Linked DNA regions of Homo sapiens: all the other regions are linked to region 3. Evidence: promoter capture Hi-C in 16 types of primary human blood cells and fetal thymus (Javierre and others, 2016). All regions are on one chromosome and are shown on one strand. Each heading gives the region's core, a stretch centred on a gene start or on the middle of the fragment in contact. The rest is flanking DNA. Distances are from core to core; before and after follow the strand shown. Region 1 overlaps P2RX3 (purinergic receptor P2X 3). Region 2 has its middle 2.4 kb from the start of PRG3. Region 3 holds the start of YPEL4 (yippee like 4).

What was found. Contacts are between HindIII fragments. The CHiCAGO score rates a contact against its expected background, and 5 or more counts as called.
Region 1: a contact is called between a fragment that was not itself captured here and the fragment with the promoter of YPEL4 in region 3, in 5 of 17 cell types (M1 macrophages, activated CD4 T cells, M0 macrophages and 2 more). The highest score is 7.4, in M1 macrophages.
Region 2: a fragment that was not itself captured here is called in contact with the fragment with the promoter of YPEL4 in region 3 in 1 of 17 cell types (activated CD4 T cells); the score reaches 6.5 in activated CD4 T cells.

What each region holds. Positions count from the first base shown.
Region 1 is chr11:57,360,482-57,364,494 of GRCh38, forward strand. All of the region lies in intron 8 of P2RX3 (purinergic receptor P2X 3), which reads left to right. Among named protein-coding and RNA genes, the nearest start is that of PRG3, 19 kb to the right of the region's middle. The HindIII fragment of the contact is 9,478 bases long and covers 1-4,013 here.
Region 2 is chr11:57,381,646-57,385,478 of GRCh38, forward strand. No RefSeq gene overlaps it. Among named protein-coding and RNA genes, the nearest start is that of PRG3, 2.4 kb to the left of the region's middle. The HindIII fragment of the contact is 1,388 bases long and covers 588-1,975 here.
Region 3 is chr11:57,648,538-57,652,704 of GRCh38, forward strand. It overlaps YPEL4 (yippee like 4), which reads right to left and starts at 1,375. Exons shown (of 5, transcript NM_145008.3): 1 at 1,148-1,375. MIR130AHG (MIR130A host gene) reads left to right here. Exons shown (of 2, transcript NR_186232.1): 2 at 1,761-4,167. The HindIII fragment of the contact is 14,007 bases long and covers 1-4,167 here.

The DNA of each region.
Region 1 (4,013 bases), core at 892-3,391, 290 kb before region 3:
CCTTTGGGCAAACAGAAACAGTGAGATATGAGGCCAGGCGCGGTGGCTCATTCCTGTAATTCCAGCACTTTGGGAGGTCGAGGTGAGCGGTTCACAAGGTCAGGATGGAGACCATCCTGGCCAACATGGTGAACCCCTGTCTCTACTAAAAAAAATACAAAAAATTAGCTGGGCATGGTGGTGCACACCTGTAATCCCAGCTACTTGGGAGGCTGAGGCAGGAGATGCACTTGAACCCAGCAGGCAGAGGATGCAGTGAGCCGAGATCGCTCCACTGTGTACTCCAGCCTGGTGACAGAGCGAGACTCTGTCTCAAAAAAAAAAAGAAAAAAAGAAAGAAAAAGAAACAGCGAGATATGGCTCATAGTCCGTAGTCCAAATTATTAGCTATAGTCTGGTGTGGCAGATACTGTAGTAGAGGCCTGAATCCTAATGGAGAGAGAAAAGGCAGCCCTGGGGGATGTCCCAACCCCAGCTCATGCCCCTGGTTTGTAGCATTGGCTGGATTTCTGTGAGGTAAATACTCCAGGATGGTCAATTTCAAGCTACCAAGGTGAAGTCACTAAACATGGAATTGGGAAGAGATGCACACAATTGGCTGCCAGCTGGGATGTGTGGACCCAGCTGCTGCCACTTCCATCTGCCTCTACCCACCAGCCCACCAACCCTCTTCCAGCTGCTTCAGAAACACCACGTTCTTTCCCGTGAGAGGGCCTGCAGATCCCTCAGCCAGGAAAGCGGCCCCTGCCTCTGGCCTTCTTGCCCTTTTAACTCTCCATCCTTCAAGCCCCAGCTTGAGGGTCACTTTTTTTTTTTTTAAGTTTAAGTTCTGGGATACATGTGCAGGACGTGCAGGTTTGTTACGTAGGTAAACGTGTGCCGTGGTAGTTTGCCGCACAATAAACCCATCACTTAGGTATTAAGCCCCACATGCATTAGCTATTTATCCTGATGCTCTCCTTCCCCCTGCACCCCCAACAGGCACCAGTGTGTGTTGTTCCCCTCCCTGTATCCATGTGTTCTCATTGTTCAGCTCCCACTTATGAATGATAACATGCAATGTTTGGTTTTCTGTTCTTGTGTTAGTTTGCTGAGGATGATGGCTTCCAGCTTCATCTATATCCCTGCAAAGATCATGATCTCATTCCTTTTCATGGCTGCATAGTATTCCATGGTATATATACCACATTTTCTTTATCCAGTCTATCATTGATGGGCATTTGAGTTGATTCCATGTGTTTGCTATTGTGAACAGTGCTGCAATAAACATGCATGCATGTATCTTTATAATAGAATGATTTATATTCCTTTGGGTATATACCCAGTAAGGGGATTGCTGGGTTAAATGGTATTGCCGGTTTCAGGGTCACTTTCACATGAAGCCTTGCCTAACCCCCAGCCTAGGTTAGACATCTAACTGTGCTCATAGAATGGCACTCCTCTCCTTCCCAACCCTTCCTTATGTCCGATTTTAGCTACTTATGGGCTTGTGTGGTTAATTAGTATTTCTCTCCCTCTCATGACAGCAGAGCTTGGCAAGGTATCAGCAGTACCTAGAACAGTATCTGGCACAGAGCAGGTGTGCTCCAAATGTTTGTTGAATGCTGAAAGAACAAGAGGTCATCTGAGCTGGGCTCTAATGGATGAATAGGAGTCTGCAAGGTGGAAAAGGGAGGCAAGAGGAACAGCATGGGCAAAAGCATAGACATCTGTGTCTGTGGGATGTGTTCAGGAAATGCAGGAAGGCAGGTAGTCTGGTGTGGCTGGAACTTGAGCGTGTGGCAGGGAGAAGAGCTTGCAGATAAGGCAGGTGGACTGGGCCAGGTCGGGAGGAGTCAAGGTATCGAATGGTCCTGTCATTCTCACCAACCCCAATCCTAACCAAAAAAATAAAAATGATCTGGTAAGAACCAGAGGACTTGGGGAAAATCAAGGCTTGGGCATGGTGTATGTAGCTGAGCCATTCCCCTTTTTAGATGAGGAGGCTACAGGGTCCTTCTGTCCTGACACTGCATGGCCCCCCAGGCTTCCTGTTCTGCTCCCAGCCAGTGACTCTGGGTATGGAGACCCACCTAGCAAATGCAAAAAGATGCACCAGCTGGAGAACGAAATTAGTTATGACCCAACAGAAATCAAGCAACAAAAGAACAGTGTAGAATGCTGGCTAAGAGTGTGGGTCCGACAGCTGGACTGCCTGGGTTCGAATCCCAGCTTCACTCACTGTTGGTTTTGTGACCTTAGACAAGTTGCTTCACCTCTCTGATCTTGATTCCTCAGCTGTGACATGGGAATAGCAACAGTACTTAAATGCAATGGGGTGGTTGTGAGCATTAAATGAGCTAATAAGCATAAGCACTTAGCACAGTGTCGGGTCACAGAGGAGTACTCAGTAGATGTTGGCTGTTATTATTACTAATATCATTATCTACAGGAGCCAGGAGAGTGTAATGATTAAAGTAAATGTAGATATTGTTTCATTTTATCTTTATGCTAGGATAAGGGATGTGTTTTAAGCACGGACTATATATGGACACTCTCTCAACTCATCCTCCTCAGAGCTCTTTTTCCTCCAATTTTTCAGTTGAAGTAAAAAGCTCAGAGAAGTCGAATGACCTTCCCAAGATCAAGAAGCTAATTCACAACAGCCATAGCACCACACCCAGATCCCCTAGGGCCTCCTTAGAGGGTTTACTCCTGGGATATAGCATCATGGGACTGTGCCCTCTGTCTAATCCTGAGTAACTCCCCAACTTCAGCTCTTTCTTTGTCCCTTGGCAAATTACATCTCTCAGCCATGAAATTCTGAGAGTTTGCAACAGTCAGGGTTAGCATTGCTAGTTGCTATAACAAACAAACCCCTCATTTCAGTGGCTTAATGTGAAGGTTGATTTCTTACCTATGGCACAGTGCACTGTGGGCCAGTGGGGGTGGGGAGCGCCATGCAGTCATTCAGGGATCTAGGCTCCTGCCATCTTGACTCAGTCTCTCTAGAGCCTCAGAGTCCTCTCCTGACTCCTGAGCAACTGGCCATCAGGTGAGGAAAGGGAAGACATAGAAGGTACACTGCTCTAAACTACCTCAGTCCAGAGGTAACAAACCTCACGGCCATTCATATTTCATCAGCAAAAACTAGTCATGGGGCCCCAGCTAAATGCAGGGGACTGGGAAATGTGGTCTAATCATCTGCAAAGAGAGGAGATAACCAGACCCTGGTGACCAATGAGCTGTCTCTGTCACAGGGGTGGGCAGATTCTGTGATCCCCATCGGCCACAGGAGAGTGCAGAAGCTGGGACTTCTGGGTTACCCCCTCTGTCTGCAGCCTGGGCCCACACTCCCTGAGCTCTGTTCCTCCTCCCTCCACCCGGGAAGAGAACCAGTCCCTGCCAACCCTCCTCAGAGGGTGGGTGGTTGGTGAGATAATGATCTTACCATGCTTATTGCCTCTTGGAAGGCAGGTGCTGGAGAAAAACCAAGTCCGCTTTGATTTTTCTCCCTGTTCCCTTCACATTCCTTCCCAGGATAAATTTAGCCAGCCCTCACTTTGAACGGCAGTGCCCAGGATACGACTTTTTGTTCTCCAAGTTGATGTCACTGTCAGAGCCGTTTTCATGGTTGCAGCCTTTGGCCAGCAGTAAAGATTTCCGGATGACAGGCCCAGCCTCTGCCCTGCCCCAAACCTCTGTGATCCACCCTCTCACCCCTGCCCACTACCCATGGGCATGAGGAACCACATCTCTGAGACAAGGGCCTTAAATTCTCCAGTGATGTGAGACAGGACACAGTATTTAGAAGGCTTTGATATCTTGCACAAGGGCTGCGTTATCCTTAACAGCCTCCAAGAGCTCAGAGGCAGGATGGTTCAAGGGGTATGAGCATGAACTTTGGAGGCATCGGTATGGATTAGAATCCCAGCTCTGGCAAGTTATCTTCTCACCTGTCTCCTCATCTGTACAATGACTCAACAACAGTATAGTCTTCATGAGATTAGTGGAGATGCTTATATTAAGGAACT
Region 2 (3,833 bases), core at 32-2,531, 270 kb before region 3:
ACCCCTACTTCACAGAGGCAAAATGTGAGATTCAGAGAAAGAGAGAAGGCAACTTGCCAAGGTTCCATGGGAAGTGGAAGAACTGGAATTTCTAAGTCTTTTTGACTCCAAAACCTTCTCTCTTTCTTTCCTCTCTCTCTTTTTTCTCTCCCTTCCTCTTTCTCATCTTTTTTTTTTTTCTTTTTGAGACGGAGTCTTGCTCTGTCGCCCAGGCTGGAGTGCAATGGCAAGATTTTGGCTCACTGCAAGCTCCACCTCCCGGGTTCAAGCGCTTCTCCTGCCTCAGCCTCCCAAGTAGCTGGCTAATTTTTTGTATTTTTAGTAGAGATGGGGTTTCACTATGCTGGCCAGGCTGGTCTTGAACTCCTGACCTCGTGATCCACCCACTTCGGCCTCCCAAAATGCTGGGATTACAGGCATGAGCCACTGTGCCTGTCCTCATCTTTTTTTTTTTTAAGAGACAAAATCTTGCTCTGTCACCCAGGCTGGAGTGCAGTGCTGCGATGATAGTTCACTGTAACCCTGAATTCCTGGGCTCAAGTAATCCTCCTGCCACAGCCTCCTGAGTCACAGGGATTACAGGCACAAGCTTTCTCATCTTTAATGTGTGAAAAATCTACATCCTTTCTTCTGTGCTGTGGATCTAGATCAAGGTTCCTCAACTTTGTGCTATTAATATGTGAGGTCAAATAACTCTTTATTGTGGAGGGGCTGTCCTGGGCGTTGTAGAAAGTTTAATGGTCCCTCTGGTCTCTACTCACCAGATGTCAGTAGCCCCTCTCCCCACCCCCGCAGATGATCAAAAATGTCTCCACATGTTTCCAAATGTCCTCTGGGGAGAAAAATGGCCCCAGTTGAGGATCTCTGATCTAGGATATGCCACCTTGCCCAACCTCAAGGCATAGCTTCAGGGCTGGCAAACAGGCAGCATGAAAAGCTCCATACAGAGTCTCTCCAGCACTCTGTAGATCATCCTCTCCAACCAACACTCCCCTCCTCACCTCCCATCTCCCACCAGTCTTCTGTCACCCCAGGGTCTGGACTAGAATCAGGCAGGGGAGGCTCTCAACTCAGACACACTAAGAAATTAAGGGGACACTAAGAAATTTACTATTCAAGATAAATAACATTTTAATGCAACATTTCTTAAAAATTGAAATTAATGCAAAACAAAACATCAAAATTTTAACTGACCAAGCTCTAGACAAAATTTGCTGCACTTTAAAGAGAGGCCAGCATGTCTCAAGCCTTGAATTTGCCAGATGTCTCTGCCAAGAGCTAGTGGACTTGTCAGGGTGAACTCAGAGGCATCCTTGTGGGATGCTTCTCAGAACTATGCCTGGCACATGAGTGGAGGGTGACCCTTGTCAATTAAAATGTGCAGATTGGTAGGACCGGGCACGGTGGCTCATGCCTGTAATTCCAGCACTTTGGGAGGCATGTGCGGGTGGATCACCTGAGGTCAGGTATTTGAGACCAGCCTGCCCAACACAGTGAAACCCTGTCTCTACTAAAAATACAAAAATTAGCCGGGCGTGGTGGTGGGCACCTGTAATCCCAGCTACTCAGGAGACTGAGGTGGAAGAATAACTTGAACCCGGGAGGCAGATGCTGCTGTGAGCAGAGATCACGCCACGGCACTCCAGCCTGGGCGACGGAGCGAGACTCTGTCTCAAAAAAAAAAAAAAAAAAAAGTACAGATTTATTCCCCATATTCCACCCCAGCCCTCCATGGCTCAGGGAGCAGGGACAGGCAGCCCAGAGGGTGAGAAGACCTAAATTCCTTCCTCTTCTCTGCTCTTCCAAAAGACCCACAAATGGAGAAGTAACTGAGAGGCCATTTCTGAGTCTGATTGCAGAGTAACGGCCTTGATCACTATCTCCGTAGCCCAACGGACCAAACCCTCCACTTATCTACTTGACTGTAGGAGGACTGGCCAGGTCCAGGACCTAAAAACCTGGTCACTGGATTTCAAGCTTGAGACCTCCCTAGTGGTGGAGGGTGGAGGCATAGACCCCCATTTGCCATTATTCTTCCTCATTCATTGGCCCAAGCCAGGGGTACCATTTCACTTCGTGGCTGGGATGACCAATAAGGTTGGCTACTCTCAGGAACCAATACTACCATGAGCCTCACACTCATTCATTGTTTCTTTTTCTTTTCTTTTTTCTTTTTTTTTTTTTTTTTTTTTGAGACAGAATCTTGCTCCGTCACCTAGGCTGGAGTGCAATGGCATGATCTCGGCTCACTACAACCTCCGCCTCCCAGGTTCAAGCAATTCTCCGGCCTCAGCCTCCCGAGTAGCTGGGATTAGAGGCACCTGCAATCATGCCCAGATAATTTTTTTATTTTTGTAGAGACGGGGTTTCACTATATTGGCCAGGCTGGTCTTGAACTCCTGACCTCAGGTGATCTACCCACCTTGGCCTCCCAAAGTGCTGGGACTACAGGTGGGAGCCACCATGCCCGGCCTTGTTGTTTCATTTTACAGATGGAGAAATGACATCTCAGAGACTTTAAACAAGTTGCCCAAGGTCACAAGCAAGTAGAGACAGGCCTGAACCATAGGCTCCCAGCTCCTTATCCACCGGATAGCTGTGTTTCTCTAGCCTCCTCTCATCAACCTCCCTCCTGAACAGACCATTCCCTCTTTCAAGTCGATCCTGTTTTCACTGTATATAAACCCTGGGCAAAGATATTCCAATGACCTCAGTGACCTTTTCTGTCTGATTTAAAACAAGAAAAAACATTTTTGAAGGTCTTCCATGGACCAGACACTATGCTTCATTAAGGTTTTTACATCTGTTACTTAACAACAGCTTAATCCTTAAAAGTCATCCTACAAATTGGGTATTGCCATCTCTAGTCTATATAGGTACTACAAAAGCTCAGAGAAGTCAAATGACTTATCCAAGTTTGCACAACTAGTAACAAATGATACATCAGATCCTAGTCTGTCTGACTCCCAAATCTTTGCTTTCTTTGACACACCCAGATGTGTTACCCCCAGATGATCTAGCCAATGATGAAAACATTGCTTTCAGCATCCATGGAACCCCAAGCCTCTGGCTTAATGTTTGCATTTGTGTTCACAGGGGTTTCAAACTCCGCCTCTTGTTCCAAGATTCAGTCCATCCCCTCATTATGCAGACGGTAGGCCTTGCCATCTTGAGAGGCAGTGTAGGGTGATGTATAATGAAATCACAAGTTCCAGGGTCAGCCCCTCTCTGCCTCAGCTTTCTCATCTGTAAACTAAGGCTAATGACAAGACTTACCTCTAATGAGATCAGCTTAAGCAAAGCTCTCAGAACTATGCCTGGCACATGAGTTGAGTGAGGGTGGCCCTTGTCTATGAAAAAGCAATGAGTGCACTGTTGATTGAGCCCCTACTCTGTGCTCTGCACAGTGTAAGGAACTCCAAGGATTCAATGATAAAGAACCATAGATAAACAGTTTCACAGAGCTTAGTTAGTATCTTACTGGAGAGGAAAATTCACACACAAACCCATATTTTGGAATATTAGCCCAGTCCCCTTATTTCATGATTTTTACTTTTTAAGAAAAAGAAAAAATCTCTTTCTTTCTTTTGAGACGGAGTTTCGCTCTTGTTGCCCAGGCTGGAGTGCAATGGCACGATCTCGGCTCACTGCAACCTTCGCCTCCCAGGTTCAAGCGATTCTCCAGCCTCAACCTCCTGAGTAGCTGGGATTACAGGCATGTGCCACCACACCCGGCTAATTTTTTTGTATTTTTAGTAGAGACGGGGTTTCTCCATGTTGGTCAGGCAGGTCTCAAACTCCCGACCTCAGGTGATCCGCCTGTCTCGGCCTCC
Region 3 (4,167 bases), core at 125-2,624:
GGCAATGCTAGAGCACTAAGCAGAGAAGAGGCAGTGTTGGCTCTGGTTAGCCAGGGCATACAGGCTCTCCTCGTCCTGTCCTCCGCAGTGGCCACAGGCACCCAGCTGTTCCACTCTCTCTGAAGGCCGCCAGGCAGTCTCTCCGCAAAACCTCCATAGAGACTATCTTCAGTTTCAGGTCCTCTCCTCCGGGCTGGGTCCCAGGAAGACACCTTGGGCTGAGTTCAGGGTGACATTGGGCTCCGGCTGCAGGAAACGGGCCCTCCTTGCCAAGAGACCACCTTTCAGTCTCTGCTTCACAGGTTTGCCTTCAACTTTGCCAGCGAGTTCCCCTCTGACATGCACCACCTTGAAACACCTTCTTCAAGGGGCATGGAGAATGGGGCAGCTTGGGTCCCCAATCCTGAGCTCCTTCTCCAGCCTCCGGCCGTCACGCCTCCCTCCCTCTCCCCTAATTCCCAGTCAAGCCAAGGAAAGGCTGCACAGAAGGCCAGAGAATCACAAAGGGGAGTAGGGGTCATTTTTTCACCCATCTCGGATCACAGGGAGAAGCAAGTTGGGCAAATGACTGGAGAAAAAACAAAGGCAAGCCGAGTGCTGGGGAGAGATGTTCCCCTGAAGTGAGACGGGGCTGGACCGTAGGAGAAAGGGGAGAGGGAGGGCTGGCGGGGGCAACTGACAGCTGACAGCAGAGGCGCCGAGGCGGAGGCTGGAGGAACCAGGTGCGAATCTCGTGCTTCTCAGGGGGGAAAAGAAAAGGGGGGGGACACCTGCTCACAATGGATTTTCTCATCTGCTCTGAGGTTTTGGCACCCCCCAGGCTGGTATTCTCAGTATGGTATGGTCCAAATAATTAGCAGCACCGCCAGCTCCCAGGGCAGGCTTTGGGGGTCTGCACCAGCAGCAAAACAATAAACAGTGATGCCTGATGCTGCAGCCAAAGTTGCCGGGAAATAAGTGCGGGAATCGTCAGAGCTTGGAGAGGGATGGAGGAACCGAGAGAGAGGAGCGGAGGCAGCGGGGAGGGGGAAGGGAGGACAAAGGGTGGATGAATAATGCTTTTGCAAAGGGGAGAAAGCAACACGCAGCAGGAGGAGGAAATTTGCAAAGAGAAAAAAATTCATTTGGAGAAGGGCTGCCCCCTCACCTTGAGGTCTGCTCCAGAGATCTCCGTCTATCTCTCTCTCTCTCTCTCAATCTCTCAATCTCTCTGCTCACTCTTCTCTCTTCTCTTTCCGCTCCTTCAATTGGGAAGGGGATGGGGGTGGGTGGGGGGAGGGTAGTTGGGGGCTCAAGACTGGGGCTGCAAAGCTGGCCAGCTGCTGGGGGGGCAGAGGTTGTCTCTCGTTCTGTACCTCGGTCTGTGGGTGAATGTGGCTGTGTGTTGTGGAACTGCATCATAACACTGTGAGTCATCCATCCCCCCCACCCCCCCTCACCTCCCACGTCAGAGCAGGGCTGGGAGACACAGGAGGCGGGTCGGAAGGAAGGGAGGGGGTAGGCATCAAGGGACGGGGCTAGAGGAGTGGGGGCCGAGGGACAAGGCGGCGATGGTGGGCAAGGGGAGAGGCAGGTTGTTAAGGAGGAAGGCAGTGGGGCCAAGGAGATACGAAGAACCTGGGGGAAGGACAGGGCTGGGCAAGGATGCAGTGAGGGTGGCAGGGCTGGAGGAAAGGAGGTGGCAAGGCTGGTGAAGGAAGAGATGGATGCAGAGTGAGGGAGCACACACACATTTAAGATGATACACTTTCCCATTTCAGCTTGGACACCAGCCCTGAAGCAGGGAAAAGACAGATGTACTAATTGTCATGGATGGCAAACTGTGCCCCCAAACTTGTACCAAGCCTCAAAGCCTTGGTTTAATACTCCTGAAGGAGTAATAGACCCAATGTGACATTTTGCATGCAGGAACCCCTTAACAGCTACCTCCATATTATGCGTGCTTCATGAATGGAGACACCTACGTTATATGAAGTTCTCTATTGGGCTGTAAACTTCCTGAGACAGGCCTTCTGGGAAATTACTCTCTACATCCCAGGACTGCAATGTCCAGTGCAGACCCGTGCATTTAGATGTTTCCAAAATAGCAGTTGTTTCCGCGGCATTATGTTCTGCTGGCCTAGAGGTCTTAGTTCCAGAGGGAGGAATGCTGCCACCAAGAGACACAACAATGATTCCATTAAACTGGAAGTTAAGATTGCCACCTGGCCACTTTGGGCTCTTCTTACTTTTAAGCCAACTTGCTAAGAAGGGAGTTACAGTGTTTGACCCAGACTATCAAGATGAAATCAGTCTACTACTCCACAATGGCGGTAAGGAAGTATGCGTGGAATACAGGAGATCACGTAGGGCGTCTCTTAATATTACCATGCCCTGTGATTAAGGTCAATGGGAAACTGCAACAGCCCAATCCAGGCAGGATGACAAATGGCCCAGACCCTTCAGGAATGAAGGTTTGGGTCACTCCACCAGGTAAAAAAAACATAATCTGCTGAGGTGCTTGCTGAAGGCAAACGGAATTCAGAATGGGTAGTCAAAGAAGGTAGTCATCAATACGAACTATGACCATGTGACCAGCTGCAGAAAATGAGGACTGTAATTGTCATGAGTATTTCCTCCTCCTTTTGTTAGGAACATGTTTGTGCATATATACACTTGTATTAAGAAAATATCTTCATTTTATTTCCTTTCTTTTGCCTTTATCATGTGACATAAGACTTACTGACTTGATATCAGCACTTAAGTGTTGTTAACTCTATGTAATAGCATTTGGGTTGGGGATTGGTGCGTTTCCGGTTGTACAAAGGATAGCTGTATTATGTTAAGCGTAATTATGACCTTATTATTGTCTTTATTTGAAGATCATGTATGATTTCAGGAGACGTGTATGGGTTCAAGTTGACAAGGGGTGGACTGGTGATGGTTAATATTGTCAACTAGATTGGATTGAAAGATGCAAAGTATTGTTCCTGGGTGTGTCTGTGAGGGTATTGCCAAAGGCGATTAACATTTGAGTCAATGGACTAGGAAAGGCAGACCCACCTCAATCTGGATGGGCACAATGTAATCAACTGTCAGCTAGGCCAGAATAAAAGCAGACAGAAGAACGTGGAAAGACCAGACTGGTTTAGCCTCTGAGCCTACGTCTTTCTCCCATGCTGGACGCTTCCTGCCCTCGAATATTGAACTCCAAGGTCTTCAACTTTGGGATTCGGACTGGCTTCCTTGCCCCTCAGCTTGCAGGCAGCCTACTGTGGGACCTCATCTGGTGATCATCTGAGTCAATATTCCGTAATAACTCTGATTTATATATACATCTATCCTATTAGTTCTATCCCGCTAGAGAACTCTGATTAATAGAGCAGTTGAGTTGCATCTTCAGACATGAACCAAGTGTCTGGCTTTGGTCTCAAAGAGACTGAATTAGACTCTTAGCTCTGCCAATTACTTGGCAGGAACCACTAGGCAAATTACTGATAATCTTTGTGCCTTAGTCTTACTCTTCTGCTAAATGAAGCTAATAATATTTATTATTATTAGCTCATGGAGATGCAGAATAAAGTGAGATAACATTTAAATGCCTGAAAAATGCCTGGCACATGATAGGCAGTAAACAGTAGTGTCATTTCAAAACAACATTCTCGCCAGGTGCGGTGGTTCACGCCTGTAATCCCAGCACTTTGGGAGGCCGAGGCAGGCAGATCACAAGGTCAGGAGATCGAGACCATCCTGGCCAACATGGTGAAATCCCCATCCCTAATAAATAACAAAAATTAGCTGGACATGGTGGCACGTGCCTGTAATCCCAGCTACTCGAGAGCCTGAGGCAGGAGAATCGCTTGAACAGGAAGTCAGAGGTTGCGGTAAGCTGAGATGGCGCCACTGTACTCACAGAGGTTGCAGTGAGCCGATCGCGCCAGCCTGGTGACAGAGCGAGACTCTGTTTCAAAAAAAAAAAAAGCATTCTTGGCTGGGTGAGGTGGCTCACACCTTGTAATCCCAGCACTTTGGGAGGCCGAGGTAGGCGAATCACCTGAGGTTGGGAGTTCGAGACCAGCCTGGACAACGTGGTGAAACCCCCCTCTCTACTAAAAATACAAAAAATTAGCCAGGTGTGATGGCGTATGCCTGTAATCACAGCTACTTGGGAGGCTGAGGCAGAAGAAT